Linked DNA regions of Homo sapiens: all the other regions are linked to region 1. Evidence: promoter capture Hi-C in 16 types of primary human blood cells and fetal thymus (Javierre and others, 2016). All regions are on one chromosome and are shown on one strand. The core of a region is centred on a gene start or on the middle of the fragment in contact, and the rest is flanking DNA. Distances in the headings are between cores, read along the strand shown. Region 1 holds the start of KANSL1L-AS1 (KANSL1L antisense RNA 1). Region 2 holds the start of LOC124907972 (a long non-coding RNA gene). Region 3 overlaps ACADL (acyl-CoA dehydrogenase long chain). Region 4 overlaps ACADL (acyl-CoA dehydrogenase long chain). Region 5 overlaps KANSL1L (KAT8 regulatory NSL complex subunit 1 like).

The links. The method cuts DNA at HindIII sites, captures the fragments that hold promoters and counts their contacts. A CHiCAGO score of 5 or more calls a contact.
Region 2: a fragment that was not itself captured here is called in contact with the fragment with the promoter of KANSL1L-AS1 in region 1 in 4 of 17 cell types (neutrophils, monocytes, fetal thymus and 1 more); the score reaches 9.2 in neutrophils.
Region 3: a fragment that was not itself captured here is called in contact with the fragment with the promoter of KANSL1L-AS1 in region 1 in 8 of 17 cell types (neutrophils, non-activated CD4 T cells, total CD4 T cells and 5 more); the score reaches 10.7 in neutrophils.
Region 4: a contact is called between a fragment that was not itself captured here and the fragment with the promoter of KANSL1L-AS1 in region 1, in 16 of 17 cell types (naive CD4 T cells, neutrophils, naive CD8 T cells and 13 more). The highest score is 18.9, in naive CD4 T cells.
Region 5: a fragment that was not itself captured here is called in contact with the fragment with the promoter of KANSL1L-AS1 in region 1 in 16 of 17 cell types (activated CD4 T cells, neutrophils, naive CD4 T cells and 13 more); the score reaches 12.4 in activated CD4 T cells.

Annotation. Positions count from the first base shown.
Region 1 is chr2:210,028,672-210,031,582 of GRCh38, forward strand. KANSL1L-AS1 (KANSL1L antisense RNA 1) reads left to right here and starts at 1,251. Exons shown (of 5, transcript NR_110291.1): 1 at 1,251-1,327; 2 at 2,796-2,836. It overlaps KANSL1L (KAT8 regulatory NSL complex subunit 1 like), which reads right to left. Exons shown (of 15, transcript NM_152519.4): 9 at 2,750-2,875; 10 at 1,132-1,247; 11 at 174-298. The HindIII fragment of the contact is 1,781 bases long and covers 537-2,317 here.
Region 2 is chr2:210,226,762-210,229,672 of GRCh38, forward strand. LOC124907972 (a long non-coding RNA gene) reads left to right here and starts at 1,821. Exons shown (of 2, transcript XR_007088064.1): 1 at 1,821-2,328. The HindIII fragment of the contact is 2,176 bases long and covers 389-2,564 here.
Region 3 is chr2:210,210,461-210,213,371 of GRCh38, forward strand. The region is part of intron 4 of ACADL (acyl-CoA dehydrogenase long chain); the gene reads right to left. Among named protein-coding and RNA genes, the nearest start is that of ACADL, 14 kb to the right of the region's middle. The HindIII fragment of the contact is 4,262 bases long and covers 1-2,911 here.
Region 4 is chr2:210,190,010-210,192,920 of GRCh38, forward strand. It overlaps ACADL (acyl-CoA dehydrogenase long chain), which reads right to left. Exons shown (of 11, transcript NM_001608.4): 10 at 2,795-2,881. Among named protein-coding and RNA genes, the nearest start is that of KANSL1L, 20 kb to the left of the region's middle. The HindIII fragment of the contact is 2,314 bases long and covers 253-2,566 here.
Region 5 is chr2:210,158,533-210,161,443 of GRCh38, forward strand. All of the region lies in intron 1 of KANSL1L (KAT8 regulatory NSL complex subunit 1 like), which reads right to left. Among named protein-coding and RNA genes, the nearest start is that of KANSL1L, 11 kb to the right of the region's middle. The HindIII fragment of the contact is 3,036 bases long and covers 1-2,911 here.

The DNA of each region.
Region 1 (2,911 bases), core at 1-2,500:
GATACTATATAACACTTAAGGCACGAGTAATTTTTTTTTCACCGTTTCCCCTCCATGGCTATGAAGGAACTGGGAGAAGGATGCTCCTTTCATTAATTAAAATTCTTCACTTTGAAAATTTAAGTTTATTAGGGAAGGAAGGAAGAAAAATATGAAGATGTAAGTATACATACCTTGGAGTAAGTATTTCCTTATATTGGAGTTTCTCTAATTTAGCTGGGGCTACTAATGACATGGGAATCACAATGTTATCTATGTCATAAGAGCTCTCACTTCTCAATCTCCGTCGTGCAGTATTCTGCAAAACAGGATTACAGTAGATTTACAGTACTGTCTAGTTACTTGTAATGATACCCTCCTTTCATCAGTTATGTAAATATGGCAGTACACGTTACATAATTTTTGTAAATACATTGTTATAAAGTCTGACTAAAAAATGTTAAGAAAACCAAAAAATAAAACATTTTTCTATCTTTTGTAAATCAGAACAATCTCTTGGTAGATGTGTAATGTGTATTTATGTGTGCAAGCATACAAGCTTATTTTTAAGACCACAAAAAATAGGTCTTAAATGCAAAACTCTTTATCAGAAAAGACCAACATACATCACCCTAAATGTCAATGAAAATGATCAGTAACCACTTTTTATTAGGAAAGGCAGTGAAACATTTTTGGTCAGCCCTTCAGTATACTCTTCATTTATGCATTCCTGGTTCCTGAGTTTCGGAATTCATTTCTAAACCCTCCCACCTTTTGACCTCTCTATTCCCTGGCCAGATAACAAAAAAACAAACAAACAAACAAAAAACAGGACAAGAACAAGAAAGTCCTGAATTCTCATTAGTAAGACTTTATTTAGCTTAATATGTTAAGGAATAGAGATGATCATGATAATGTTTAAATTTTTAACACATAAAAAGAAGCTATAACCAAATATTAATGAACTTTTAGCTTCATAGTTAAAAATAAGTTGTATGAATCAAATATATTGTTTTCTAACAAGATAGTTATAAATGTCTGTTAATATGTGCTAGTAAGGCTGTTATAGATTAGCAAAATATAAATTATTTTCAAAATCAGGTGTTTTTATTTTTAAAGCTATTTTAGAGTTCAACATATGGAAAAACCTACTCGTGATGAATTCTGGATTCTTGATAAAACGTTGACATTGGAAACAGCAGTAAAATTGCTATGGGATCCTGATTCTGTGTGTTGAAAATCAGATTCTTCAAGTTTAGTTCTTTCTCCTGCCATGGAAAGAACCATTGAATGTTACACATTAAACAAGTCTAATATCATTAGAATTACTTTCCTAATTAGATGACAGGTGATTGATTCCTTGTTTTGTGTGTGTGTGTTTAAATTCGTGTATTAGAAAACAAAAAAGGAAATGAAAAAAGAGGAGCCTTACTTGCAGTCATGCCACAAGTTATTTCCATTTTCTGGGGCTTTGGCAGTTTTTATCGAATATATTTCTTATTGTTCCCTGAATAATCCCTCATCTCATCCCTTTATTCTTGTTTCCTGTGACTCCTATTCATAGTTGAACCACCAGAACTATCTTAATTTTCTTATCTAATCTCATTTTTCATATCTGACTTTTTATCCTAATTTATGTGAGGTATCTGTCCTTGGTCTTCTGAACACTCTTAATTTTTTGAAAAAATTCTGCTATTATAAGTACATGTTTCCGAAAGTACTTGTTCTCTGGTACTCTTTTTTTAAAACAGCATCCTGTTCTTGTTTCATAGATGAAATTTCTCATATCTCTCAGGATATTGATTAGAAGTTTACTTCTGTTAGTATTTTCTGTATATCTTCCAAGTTCTTTTTTTTTTTTTTTCCTGTTTTGGTTCCCAGTTACTGTGTGTGTGTGTGTGTGTAGTAAATATATATATGTATGCGTTTACTTACTGCCCTTATTTTAGTACAAGTGTTTTAAAATGAGAATATTTCCTGCATAATATAAAATCTAATACCCAGTCCATATTTAAATATCTCCATTTGTTAAAAAAAAGTCCTTTATAGCTAGTTTCTTCAGATAAGGATCTATATATAAAAATTGGCCATTGTCTCCTAGGTTTCTTATAGTCTAGAATAAATCATTTTTCATTACATTGACTTTTGACAGGCTGGACCAGATGTCCTACCCTTTTGGAATTGTCTAGTTATTTATTTGTAGTATGACATTTCTTTATTTTATTCCTGTATGTACATCAAACTTGAAGTTAGATCTAAAGTGTCAGTCAATTTAAGTGAAACATTTTATATCTTAGGTAATGTATACTTCATGTTGCATCTTATTAGATGTTTTTAAAGCTTTATATATATATATAAGTTGAATCTTGTTGACTTTCTCAAAATCCTGAGGAATCTGCAGTGCATCAACATCTCCACAGTAGGTACCATAAATGGTTAACAGTTTCTGTAAGGCAACTTTGCACTAGCCTATTTTGAGCATAGAACACAACTTTGAAGATTAAATCCCATCCAGGGACTGATTGGTAGAAGACAACTAGTCAGGGAACATAGGAGGGAAATACTTAATTGCCATAAAGTGGGTAGATACCAGTCCACAAATAATTCTAAATTAACTACGAATATGCTGTTTCATGTTTGTAGACTCATAGATGTTTTGTGTTATTAGTGGCTGTTCTGGATTATAAACTCCCATGAGAGGTTATTTTAAAATCAGAATTTTTAATTTTTAATATTTATCACTACTGCTTATATCCTCACTTTAACCTACCTAATGCTGTTTCACTCAAATGTCTTTTCTTTCTTCCCTGTAACAGTTGTGCAGAAGATTCTGACCTTATTTGAGGCTTACATATAGGTGAATATCCATTTCTCCATTGATTCAGAGTACTATGTACTAAAACAAATGAAAAGGAAATATTAAGTTTTAGTT
Region 2 (2,911 bases), core at 227-2,726, 200 kb after region 1:
TGGTAGTAAATGTCATGGACTACACGGTCCTTTCTAAACCCCATGAAAATGCCAGCTTCTTTAACCCAAATAACTGCCTGTGTCTGTATCTGTATCTGTATCTGCCTGTTTATAAATGTATAAAAAGTGAGTGATTAGAAATTATATATATATTTTTATATTTGGTTTGAAGAATACCTTGATGACATAATTGAGAAACTGAAATTGGCATCTGTTAAATGTGTCTGAAATATTTTCTTTTCCCTTATAGAGGACAATGGTCTCAAAACTAGTTACTGTTTTATGTTTTGGAACATTTTCTTTAAAAAAATAAATAGCAATTTAAGTATCTGTAACCAACAATTTTGACAGTAAACTTTATTGTCAGGATTAAGAATGGATTTGTTTAAGCTTCCAACTTCAAACCCTAATCTGCTTCTAAATTGCTTCTCTATGAGCCATACCTATAATATAATATGACCAAAATATTAATCATACACATTTATAAGGAAAAACTGCTCAAAGTAAAAGAAAAGTTATAAAATTTATCTTCTAGGGCTCTCCTTTTTTTTTTTTTTATAGTCATTGTATACAGAGCTCATTAGAAAAAGTATTTATTTATTTCCCCTGGTGCAAAGCAAAACTTATCTAATCAAATATAGAAGTGTTGCATAAGTTTTAGTGCATTACAGTCTTAGACTAAAGAAATCTAAGCATCTGTAATTCTGTAATATAGATCTTGGACAATGTCACAAGGATGATTGCTAAACCATTTTGCTTGCATAATACAGAATTATTCCTCTTCATAGCTGATTTGTATTTAGGGTAAGATAAGCCTTCATGGGAAGATTTTGCTGGCAATACATGCCCTTTGCCATAGTAATTCCACCTGGTCTCCATTTAACAATCTTTTAAGGCCAGACACGGTGGCTCACTCCTGTAATCCCAATACTTTGGGAGGCCAAAGCAGGTGGATTGCTTGAGTCCAGAAGTTCTAGGCCAGGCTCTGGGAAACATGGCAAAACCCTATATCTACCAAAAATTAGCCAGGCTTGGTGGCCTATGCCTGCAGTCCCCGCTACTCAGGAGGCTGAGGTGCAAAGATCACCTGAGCCCAGGAGGTCAAGGCTGCTGTGAGCCGAGATTGCGCCATTGCAGTCCAGCCTGGGTGACAGAGTGAGACCCTGTCTCAGAAACAAACAAACAGAAAAAAACAAAACACAACACTTTTAGCTTTATTTGAGTACATAGGTTTAACATTATTTCCATAGAAACCTGAATGTATTTGCTTAAACTCCACATGAAACTGAAAGTTATTACTTCTGTAAAGTACATTCCTTGGGTGATAGGTGTCTTTATCAAAGGGAAAATATTTAGTCAAATTAATCTATAATTTAATGTTAATATTGTTGAGTGTCAGCTTATGAACTAAAACTATGTGGGCCATGAATCACATTTTTAATTCAAGAGCTTTATTTATTTTCTTTCAAAACTAGCCATCCTGTGCTTATCTCAATTTGCTGCAAACTTCTTCAACTTCCCATCTCCTCTCTCAAATATATCTACATGCCCATCCTTCCTTTCTTTCAATCAAGAGAAAGAAGCATCTGCTCTGCGCAACCTCCACCTCCTGGGTTCAAGAGATTCTTCTGCCACAACCTCTGGCGTAGCTGGGATTACAGGCATGCGCCACCACGCCCAGCTAATTTTGTATTTTTAGTAGACACTGGGTTTCTCCATGTTGGTCAGGCTGGTCTTGAACTCCCGACCTCGGGTGATCCGCCCACCTAGGTCTCCCAAAGTGCTGGGATTGCTGGTGTGAGCCACTGCGCCTGGCCAACTCCACCTTTTAATACCCTTGATGAGACGGGACAGTGCTCTTGACCCCCTTTGCAGGCAGGAACTGGAGTGGCTCGTTTCATTCAACCCATCGCTGGCCACTCCTTGTGGGAGAGAGTATGCAAGCAACCAAGTGTGGAAACTTGAGTGAACTGAATGCTGGAATCCGCTGGGCATTCCTCTCTGGTGGGAGCAGGCTCCGTGCGAACCCTGTAGTGGTGTTCAAGTGTATTCAACCAATGCTCTTTCAGCTCTGCATCCAGGATGGCCAAGTGCCAACCAGCTTAGTGGAGGGTCAGGGTGGCAGCCCCTGCCCTCTCGGCACCTGGGTTCTTGCCCAGCATCCAGGAAGAATCAGGTCACATGAACTGTTTGAAAGGTGATGAATATGGAAGACTTTATTGAGCGGTGCCGGCTCTCAGTGGAAAGGGAAACTGGAAAGGGGATGGAAAGATGATCACTCCCTGAAGCCCAGCCATCTTCAGCTGGTCCCCTCTCTGAAGCCACAAGGTCTGAAGTTAGTCATGTCTACCTGTAGTCTCTGACACTCAGTTGTTTCTCTATTTGCTCCTCAGCCACTTGTATTATTGACGCTCAGCCACTTATATCACTGATGCTCAGCTGCTTGTGTTGCCATGCCAGCTGAAGTCTTTCATGGGCATAAGATAGAGGCAGGGGCAAGCCAAAAAGGCAACATTTGGGCAGAAAAACAGGGTCAGTTGTCTTCACTTAGGGTTGAGGTTTCAAGCTTAAGGGTGGGGTTTACCCAGGAGTCCAGCCCTTCTGTATCATTGGGAGTTAGGGTTTCTCAACATATGAATTTTCAGGGGGACATAAACATTCAGTTCATTGCAATAATCCATGTTTTCTGCTGATTTAAAATATGAACTCTATCATTTGCATTCCCTTATGTATTTAGGTCTATTTGTAGACTTTTCTATTTCACTCATCTGCTTGTCCGTTAATTCATTCAACAAGTATTTATTGAAAGCCTTATACATGCCTACATGCCAGGCGATCTTCCAGATATTATAAACAGAAATGAACAAAGCCCCCCCTTTTTTCTAGACGGAGTTTCGCTCTTTCGCTCAGG
Region 3 (2,911 bases), core at 266-2,765, 180 kb after region 1:
TATGATTAAGATTTATTATATAAATTAGCCAGGTTTTATACAGTAGTATAACAAAGCCCAACTAACATTCGAGACCCCAGTGGGACTCACATAACATTTCAAACCTCACTGTATCCCTGAGATTACGTGTCACCATGTACTTTGCTGCCTTTAAACACCTTGGTTCCTTCCCCTGTCTCTATTGATCAAAAATTTAGCTATTAGGCAGGGCATGGTGGCTCATGCCTATAATCCCAGCACCTTGGGATACTGAGGCTGGAGGACTGCTTGAGCCCGGGAGTTTGAGACCAGCCTGGGCAACAAAGCTAGACTCTATCTCTACAAAAAGTTAAAAAATTAGTTGGGTGTGGTGGCACACGCCTGTGGTCTCAGCTACTTGGGAGGCAGAAGTGAGAGGATCACTTGGGCCTGAGAGGTTGAAGCTGCAGTGAGGCATGATCAGGCCACTGCACTCTAGTCTGGGTAACACAGTGAGAATTTGTCTAAAAAAAAAAGAGTATGTCTCAAATGCCATTTTTTTCTAACAAACCTGCTCTAAGTGTAGAATAGATTATTTTTCTAAATATAAGAGAAACAAATATTAGTAAATAAAATATTAAGAACACAGCAGTCCAAAGGAGAAAAATAATTTTAAAAATAATTTTATCTCCTGGAATGAACATTTTAAAGGTATATCTTTCCAATATTTTTCTATGGACATAACTATACATATATATGCATTTTTATAAAACTGGAACCATATAATATGATTTTGATCTGTTAACAATATCTAATGACTTCTTATTAGCTGAATAGAGCATCATCATGGATTTACCATAATTTTAAGAAATAATCCCCTATTGTTAAAACACTTAGGTCCCAATTTTTATTAATATCCTATAATAAACAGCAGAGTGTATAAACAGTCCACATTACTTGTGTAATTTTTCCAATTTGTCTTCTTTATGTGGGTGATATGGTTTGGCTCTGTGTCCCTACCCAAATCTCATGTTCAATTATGATCTTCAGTGTTGGAGGAGGGGGCCTGGTGGGCTGATTGGATCATGGGGAAGGACTTTCCCCTTGCTGTTCTTGTGACAGTGAGTTACTTATCATGAGATTTGGTTGTTTAAAAGTGTGTATGTAGCACATCTCCCTTCTCTCTCTTCCTCCTTCTCTGGCCATGTAGGACATGACTGCTTCCCCTCTGCCTTCTGCCATGACTGTAAGTTTCCTGAGGCCTCCCAAGCCATGCTTCCTATACAGCTGGTGGAACTGTGAACCACTTAAACCTCTTTTCTTTATAAATTACCCAGTTTCAGGTATTTTTTATAGCAATGCAAAAACTGAGTAATAAATACAGTGGTGTTTTTATTTTATGCCCCTCAGCATTTTTTTTTTTTTTTTTGAGACCGAGTTTTTCTCTTGTTGCCCAGGCTGGAGTGCAATGGCACAATCTTGGTTCATTGCAACCTCTGCCTCCCCAGTTCAAGTGATTCTCCTGCCTCAGCCTCCCCAGTATCTGGGATTACAGGCGTATGCCACCATGCCTGGCTAAGTTTTTTGTATTATTAGTAGAGACATGGTTTCACCATGTTGGCCAGGCTGGTCTTGAACTCCTGACCTCAGTTGATCTGCACACCTTGGCCTCCGAAAGTGTTGGGATTACAGGCGTGAGCCACCGCACCTGGTTGCATTTTTTTTTTTTTTAAATCACTCTCTGTATTAGGCTGAATAATGACCCTAAAGATATCAGGTCCTATACCCTAGAGGCTGTTGTACCTTACATGGAAAAAGAATCTTGCAGATGTGATTAATTTAAGGATGTTGTGATAGAGAGACTATCATGAATTATCTGGATGAGCCCTAAATGCAAACATGAATGTCCTTATAAAAGAGAGGTAAAGAGAGATTTCATAGACAGAAGAGAAGGCAATGTGACCACAAAGGCAAAGACTGCAGTGACGAGGCAACAAGGCAAGGAACGCCAACAGCCACCAAGAAATAGAAGAGGAAAGGAGTGGATCCTCCCCTATAACCTCTGTAGAAAGTGTGGCCCTCCTGATACCTTGATTTGGGCCCAACAATACTGATTCTGGACTTTTAGCCTTCAGAACTGTAAGAGAATAAATTTCTGTGTCTCAAGCCACCAAGTCTCTGCTAATTTGTCACAGACGCCATAAAGCAACAAATATACTCTCTTAGAGCCATTTACTTTGAATTTCAATTATAATAAAAAGGAATTATCTTTCCCACCTACCACACTTATCTGACTCAAGTTTTTTGAGAACATGTGGTGTATCAAGATCATATTTATATGCTTGGTGCCTAGCATGCTGCTTTGTACATAACGGGCACTCAATAAACATTTGTTAAATTATATTATTAAAATGCCAAGTATACAGAAAAGAATTAATATAGCAGGCCTGAGACTGCTATCCTTAGAAAGGCCTGTTACAACATTGTCCGTGGCTAACATCTGAGAATCTGGATTTCAGGAGAGTTCCCACCATTCCCAGTACTCATAAGAGTGGCTTACTGTCTGAACTGTTTGCGCAAACAATTTGGCTTATGCTGAATACCTGCTTTCCTTTTAGGGATCTGAACTTTTGGTACATGCCAGGCAGAGGGTGCCTATATGACCGACCTCCACTATAAACAAGAGACTGTGCCCAGCCTGAATGCTATTGTATTCTAACATCATATTTTTCATCATAAGTATGTATAAAGTATCGGTAACTAATGTCTGTACATAGTTTATTAAAACAATTCTTCTATAGCTGGGTGTGGTGGCTCATGCCTGTAATCCCAGCACTTTGGGAGGCCAAGACAGGCGGATCACCTGAGGTCAGGAGTCCAAGACCAGCCTGGCCAACCTGCTGAATCCCTGTCTCTACTACAAATACAAAAATTAGCTGGGCATGGTGGCGGG
Region 4 (2,911 bases), core at 160-2,659, 160 kb after region 1:
TAGACACACTCAAAGGCTTTTCTTTTTTTTTTCTCAAGTATAATCTTGGTGTTTTGTTTTGTTTAAATTTGATTTTTAAGACAAATTAAATGTGCCAGCTCTCTAGGAACATACCACTTTTGGACTTATTCTTCTCCATATTCATCAGGGTTCCTTACAAAGAAATGGACACTCAGTAAATATTTACTGATATGATTTACGGTGTTACAAAGGAAATTTACAATCTCAGAACTTTCTGCTGAAAGCTTTAAAAGCTTGAGATATTTATGTTTTCAAACATTTTTTTCTGAACGGATTTTGCTATTCTCTACAAAATCTAGCACCTGCATTTTGAGCACTTACCTACTGTAAGCCTACTTCAGCAGTCCCAATGCGTTTAGATATATATATATATATTTGTAAATGGGCTAGGCTTCTTTTTACATTAAAGAAGTTCCAATGGAGTAAAGCAGAGATTAGTAGACCTTTTATATGTTACTAATTAAATTTAGTCATCAACTAAAATTAACAGTGAAAGGCGGCAGCAGAAATGTTTAACCACACTGCAGTGAAGTTCTACATCTAAGGCAGCTCTTCCCAGCATGGCAGAGAAATCTTAAAATGACAAGGCTTAAATCTCACTCCTCACGGGCTCGAGCCTAATGAGTAAGACTTATTAAATAAACCCACATGCTGAAGACCAGTTATTAAAGAAGACAAAAACAAAAAAACAAAATAAAAAAGCAGAGAAAACACCTCTTATCTATGAAACCAACCCTCAGCAACATATATATAAACTAATGTAGTTTAGTCTGGGGGATATAAGAAACACAATTAGAAGATTTTTCTTTTTTTATCAAATCAAAATCTATACATTACATCCACATATTGCCAATGTGTCTATGTGGCTTTTTTGTTGTTGTTGTTGTTGTTTGTTTTTTTTTTTTTGAGACAGTCTCACTCTGTCGCCCAGGCTGGAGTGCAGTGGCGCAATCTCGACTCACTGCAACCTCCGCCTCTCGGGTTAGAGCGATTCTCATGCCTCTGGAGTAGCTGGGACTACAGGCACCTGCAACCACGCCTAGCTAATTTTTTTGTATTTTTAGTAGAAATGGTGTTTCGCCATTTTGCCCAGGCTGGTCTTGAACTCTTGACCTCAGGTGATCCACCCGCTTTGGCATCCCAAAGTGCTGGGATTACAGGAGTGAGCCACCGCACGTGGCCTCAGTGGCTTTTTTGATATTAGGCGATATATGGGAAGAGAAATAGCAGTCTAGTTTAAAAATTGATACAATCTTTGAACTAACAAACTGGCCAAGAAAGGTGATTATTGTTTCTTAAAGAGAATATAAGTCTCTCAAACTGAAACCAGAGATTTCAAATAAGCCATCAATCTACATTGTTTGCTTGGTACCAACTTGAAGGAGTTGACTCCGAGAAAACAGAGACCAAGGCTTATGCCACGCTCTAATCTTAAGCCATTTAGATGATTGCCTTCTCCCCACCTAATAGGCCTTTCTTAAATGTGAACTAAACCACACAAACATTGAGCCACTACATAGCTTCTGTTCTTAATGTAATTTTAGTAAAATATTTTTTCTAAGGACTATAAGCATATTAAATGTTTCCAATTATACTTACCAAAAAGATAAATTTGAAATCATTAGGCTGCCAGTTTGAATGTAGGTTTCATAATTTTTCCCTTTAGATACTTTATATTAAGATAATCTTAAAACATTTTTAGAAGCCTATAGCATTCTTACTCTCAGATTCAGAACAAACTGAACTTTTCTGTATAAATAAAAAATTTCCTTGGGAAAATTTTCTAAACCAAAATCATTGCTAAATAATCAGAAAAATATATTTTCTAGGGTGATGAGGAAAAAAAGCTATGGGGAGACTTCTGAGGCAAAAGACTGTTAGGAGAAAAGGAAATTCTGGAGATTGAGGAAGAAATATGAATGGGGACACTGCCTATTTACAAATTAGTACTGCTTCAAACTGATAAGAATATTCATATATGATAAAAAGATATATTTGATTTCTTTCAATTTGAAGGAAATAAATCTATTTAGAAAGAAGATTTTTAATTTTTTTAGAACAAAACAAATAATCAGATATTTAAGATATGTGACAACTTAGATCCTTTTCATATGCCAGTTAATTTTTCTGTATTGCTTTTTTTTTTTTTTGGTTTTAAAAAAAAAGTAGTATTTGGCCGGATGCAGTGGCTCACGCCTGTAATCCCAGTACTTTGGGATGCCAAGGCAGGCAGATCACTTGAGGCCAGGGGTTTGAGACCAGCCTGGCCAACATGGCAAAACCACACCTCTACTAAAAATACAAAAAAATTAGCCAGGTGTCATGGCACGCACCTGTTAATTCCAGCTACTCTGGAGACTGAGGCACAAGAATTATTTGAACCTGGAAGGTGGAGGTTGCAGTGAACCCAGATCATGCCACTGTACTCCAACCTGGGTGACAGAGCGAGACTGTCTCAAAATAAAATAAAAAATAAAAAAATTAAAAAATTTTTGAAAATACTATTTGTCCTTCTACATAAGGATTCAAATAAAGCCAAGGATCAAGCTTTTGTTTATTGGTCTCTTTACTTTATTTAAGAAAAATAAAATCCTAGTAGGGAGTTGATAAAAAAAAAGCTGTTTCCATTTGCTTGAATACATTTTGTCTGTATTCAGCTGAAAAATTCAAAAGATTGCACACCTCCTTTCCCTCTACATTTGATGTACAAAGTAAAGAAATTTTCCTTTTTCTTCACATCATAAAGAAGAGTGTATCAGAAAACTATACTTACTTTGCAATTGGGTACTCCCACATGTATCCCCAACCTCCATGGAGCTGTACACAGTCGTAAGCTACACTATTTTGTAACTCAGATGCCCTAAATGACCAAAATAAAAGGCAGAAAAGA
Region 5 (2,911 bases), core at 218-2,717, 130 kb after region 1:
TTTAAGCCACTAAATTTGGGGGTAATATACTACACAGTAATAAATAATGAATACACTTGGATATGAAGACTTTTAAGCTCTAGTCTATGAAAGTCCGGGACATATCATAGCTCTTATTCAGGGATTTCCATTAAGTCCTTCTGTATTCTATTCCCAAGTGTATCCTTATAAAAAAAAAAAAAAACCTAGCCTAAGTAAGTCTCTCTACTTTGCAACCAAAAGAAACTAATGAAAATAGCTATGTCTCCTATAAATAAAAAAGATTAAATTATGTTCAGTATAGTTTTAGCACAAAATATAAGTACATTTCTTCCAATTATTTAAATTATCTAGATATATAATCATTTTACATAACAATGTTTCCCAACTGAATATTCTAAACTACCACTTCTGACGACCTCCATATTATATAAACAACTACACTTATCACTAACACTTCTAAGCTCTATTAAAGGCTTGGATTTTTGAACAGTTTTGTTAACTACTGTATCCTCAACATGCAAATCTATTTGACATACAGAAGATGCGCAACAAATAACCTGGTGAGAAAATGAGTGGTTGCCAGTATATTTAAAATCCAAAGTTGTCCTTACGATAGCCTACAAAATTGGTATTATCAGGTTCCTGACTACTTTGCCTTCTACAACTCTTTCCATGAATTACTGCACTCCAGAAACACCGGCCTCTATGCTGTATTTGAAACACACCAAGCAAGTCTCTTGACACAGTGACTTTGTGTTTGCTATTCTCTCAGCCTGAAACAATTTTTTACAAATAAGATGGCTGGCTCCCTCACTTCATTTACTTCTGCTCTAAGGTCACCTCATCAGAGTCCTTCCCTGACCAATATATTTTAAATAGCTTCAGCCTCTTGGTTCATGACTCTCCATTCCCTTACACTGCTTTATTGCTCTTCATAGCACTATTGCCACCTGACATTATATTACATTCTAGGAAAGAATGTAGTTTAAGTGCAAGAACTCAATGATCTAATCTCCAGCACTAGAATAATGCCTGGCACACAGTAATTATCATGTATTTGTTGACTAAATTCATAAATTAATTGATCATGATATTTAAAGGCATTTCAGGATTTTGGTACTCACAAGTAGTAACAACACCTATTTCAATTACTATTTTTTAATTGTACAAAACAACAAAATATAGAAAGGATACTATGTTCAAGTATGGCTTATTTCATGAACACAAGACTGGTTCAACATTAAAGAAAACAACAGGCCGGGCGCGGTGGCTCACGCCTATAATCCCAGCACTTTGGGAGGCCGAGGCAGGCGGATCGAGACCATCCTGACTAAAAAGGTGAAACCCCGTCTCTACTAAAAATACAAAAAAAATAGCTGGGTGTGGCGGTGGGCACCTGTAGTCCCAGCTATTCGGGAGGCTGAGGCAGGAGAATGGTGTGAACCCGGGAGGTGGAGCTTGCAGTGAGCCGAGATCACGCCACTGCACTCCAGCCTGGGTGACAGAGCGAGACTCCGTCTCAAAAAAAAGAAAACAATAACTAAAATTCACCATATCAATAGACTAAAGAGAAACCATATGATGTCAATAAATGGAGAAAAAGCATTTGACAAAATTCAATATCCATTCATGAGAAAAACTCAGCAAATTAGGAAGGAGAGGGAATGTCTTTAATCTGATAAAAAGCATGTACACAAATGCCTATAGCTCACATCATAATTAATGGTGAAAGACTGAATGTTTCTGCCCTAAGACTGGGAATGAGGCAAGGTAGACATTTCTCACCACTCATACTCAATGTTGTACTGGAGGACCTAGTTAGTGCTGTAGAGCAAGAAAAAAAAAAGAAATAAAAAGCACAGATTAGAAAGTAAGTAAAACTGTCTCTATTCACAGATGACGTGATTTTCTACATAGAAAATCCCAAGGGATTGAACTCCTCGACTAATGAATTTAATAAGGCAGCAAACACAAGGTCAACCTACAAAACTCATTTATATTTCTATATGCTAGAAATAAAAAACTAGAAATAGAAATTTTTAAACAGTAATAATTCCAACACCTGCAAAAATGCTTTGGTATAAATCTAAACACAAGATGATGCACATGGTCTTTATACTGAAAAATACAAAACACCCATAAAAATATCAAGACCTAAATAGTGCATTACACTATGTTCACAGATAAAACTATTCAATATTGTTATGATGCTAATTCTCCTCAAACTGATTTATAAGTTTAGATACAAAATCTTGGCAGGACATTTTGCTGATATCTACAAGCTAATTCAAAGATTTATATGAAAGTTAAAGGAACCAGAATAGCCAAAACAATTTGGAAAAGAACAAAGTTGAAGGATTCACACAACTTACCAATTTCTAGTAGACAAGACAGTGTGGCATTAGCAAAAGGATGAACACATATATGGAAAAAAACAGAGCTCAGGAACAGACCCACGCACATACGGCCAATTTTTTTTTTTTTTTTTTTTTGAGACGGAGTTTCACTCTGTCGCCCAGGCTGGAGTGCAATGGCGTGATCTCGGCTCACCGCAACCTCCGCCTCCCAGGTTGAAGTGATTCTCCCGCCTCAGCCTCCCAAGTAGCTGGGATTACAGGTACCCGCCATCATGCCCGGCTAATTTTTGTATTTTTGTAGAGATGGGGTTTCACCATGTTGGCCAGGCTGGTCTTAAACTCCTGACCTCAGGTGATCTGCCTACCTCAGCCTCCCAAAGTGCTAGGATTACAGGGGTGAGCCACTGCGCCTGGCCTGATTATTTTGACAAAGATAGCAAGGCAATTAAATGTAGAAACCTTGTTTCTTAAATCATATCATTCTAAACTAATTGGACATCCATAGGGAAAAAAAAATGAAACTGAATACGTATTTCATACCTTATATAAAAATGGTCAGACCTATCAGAATG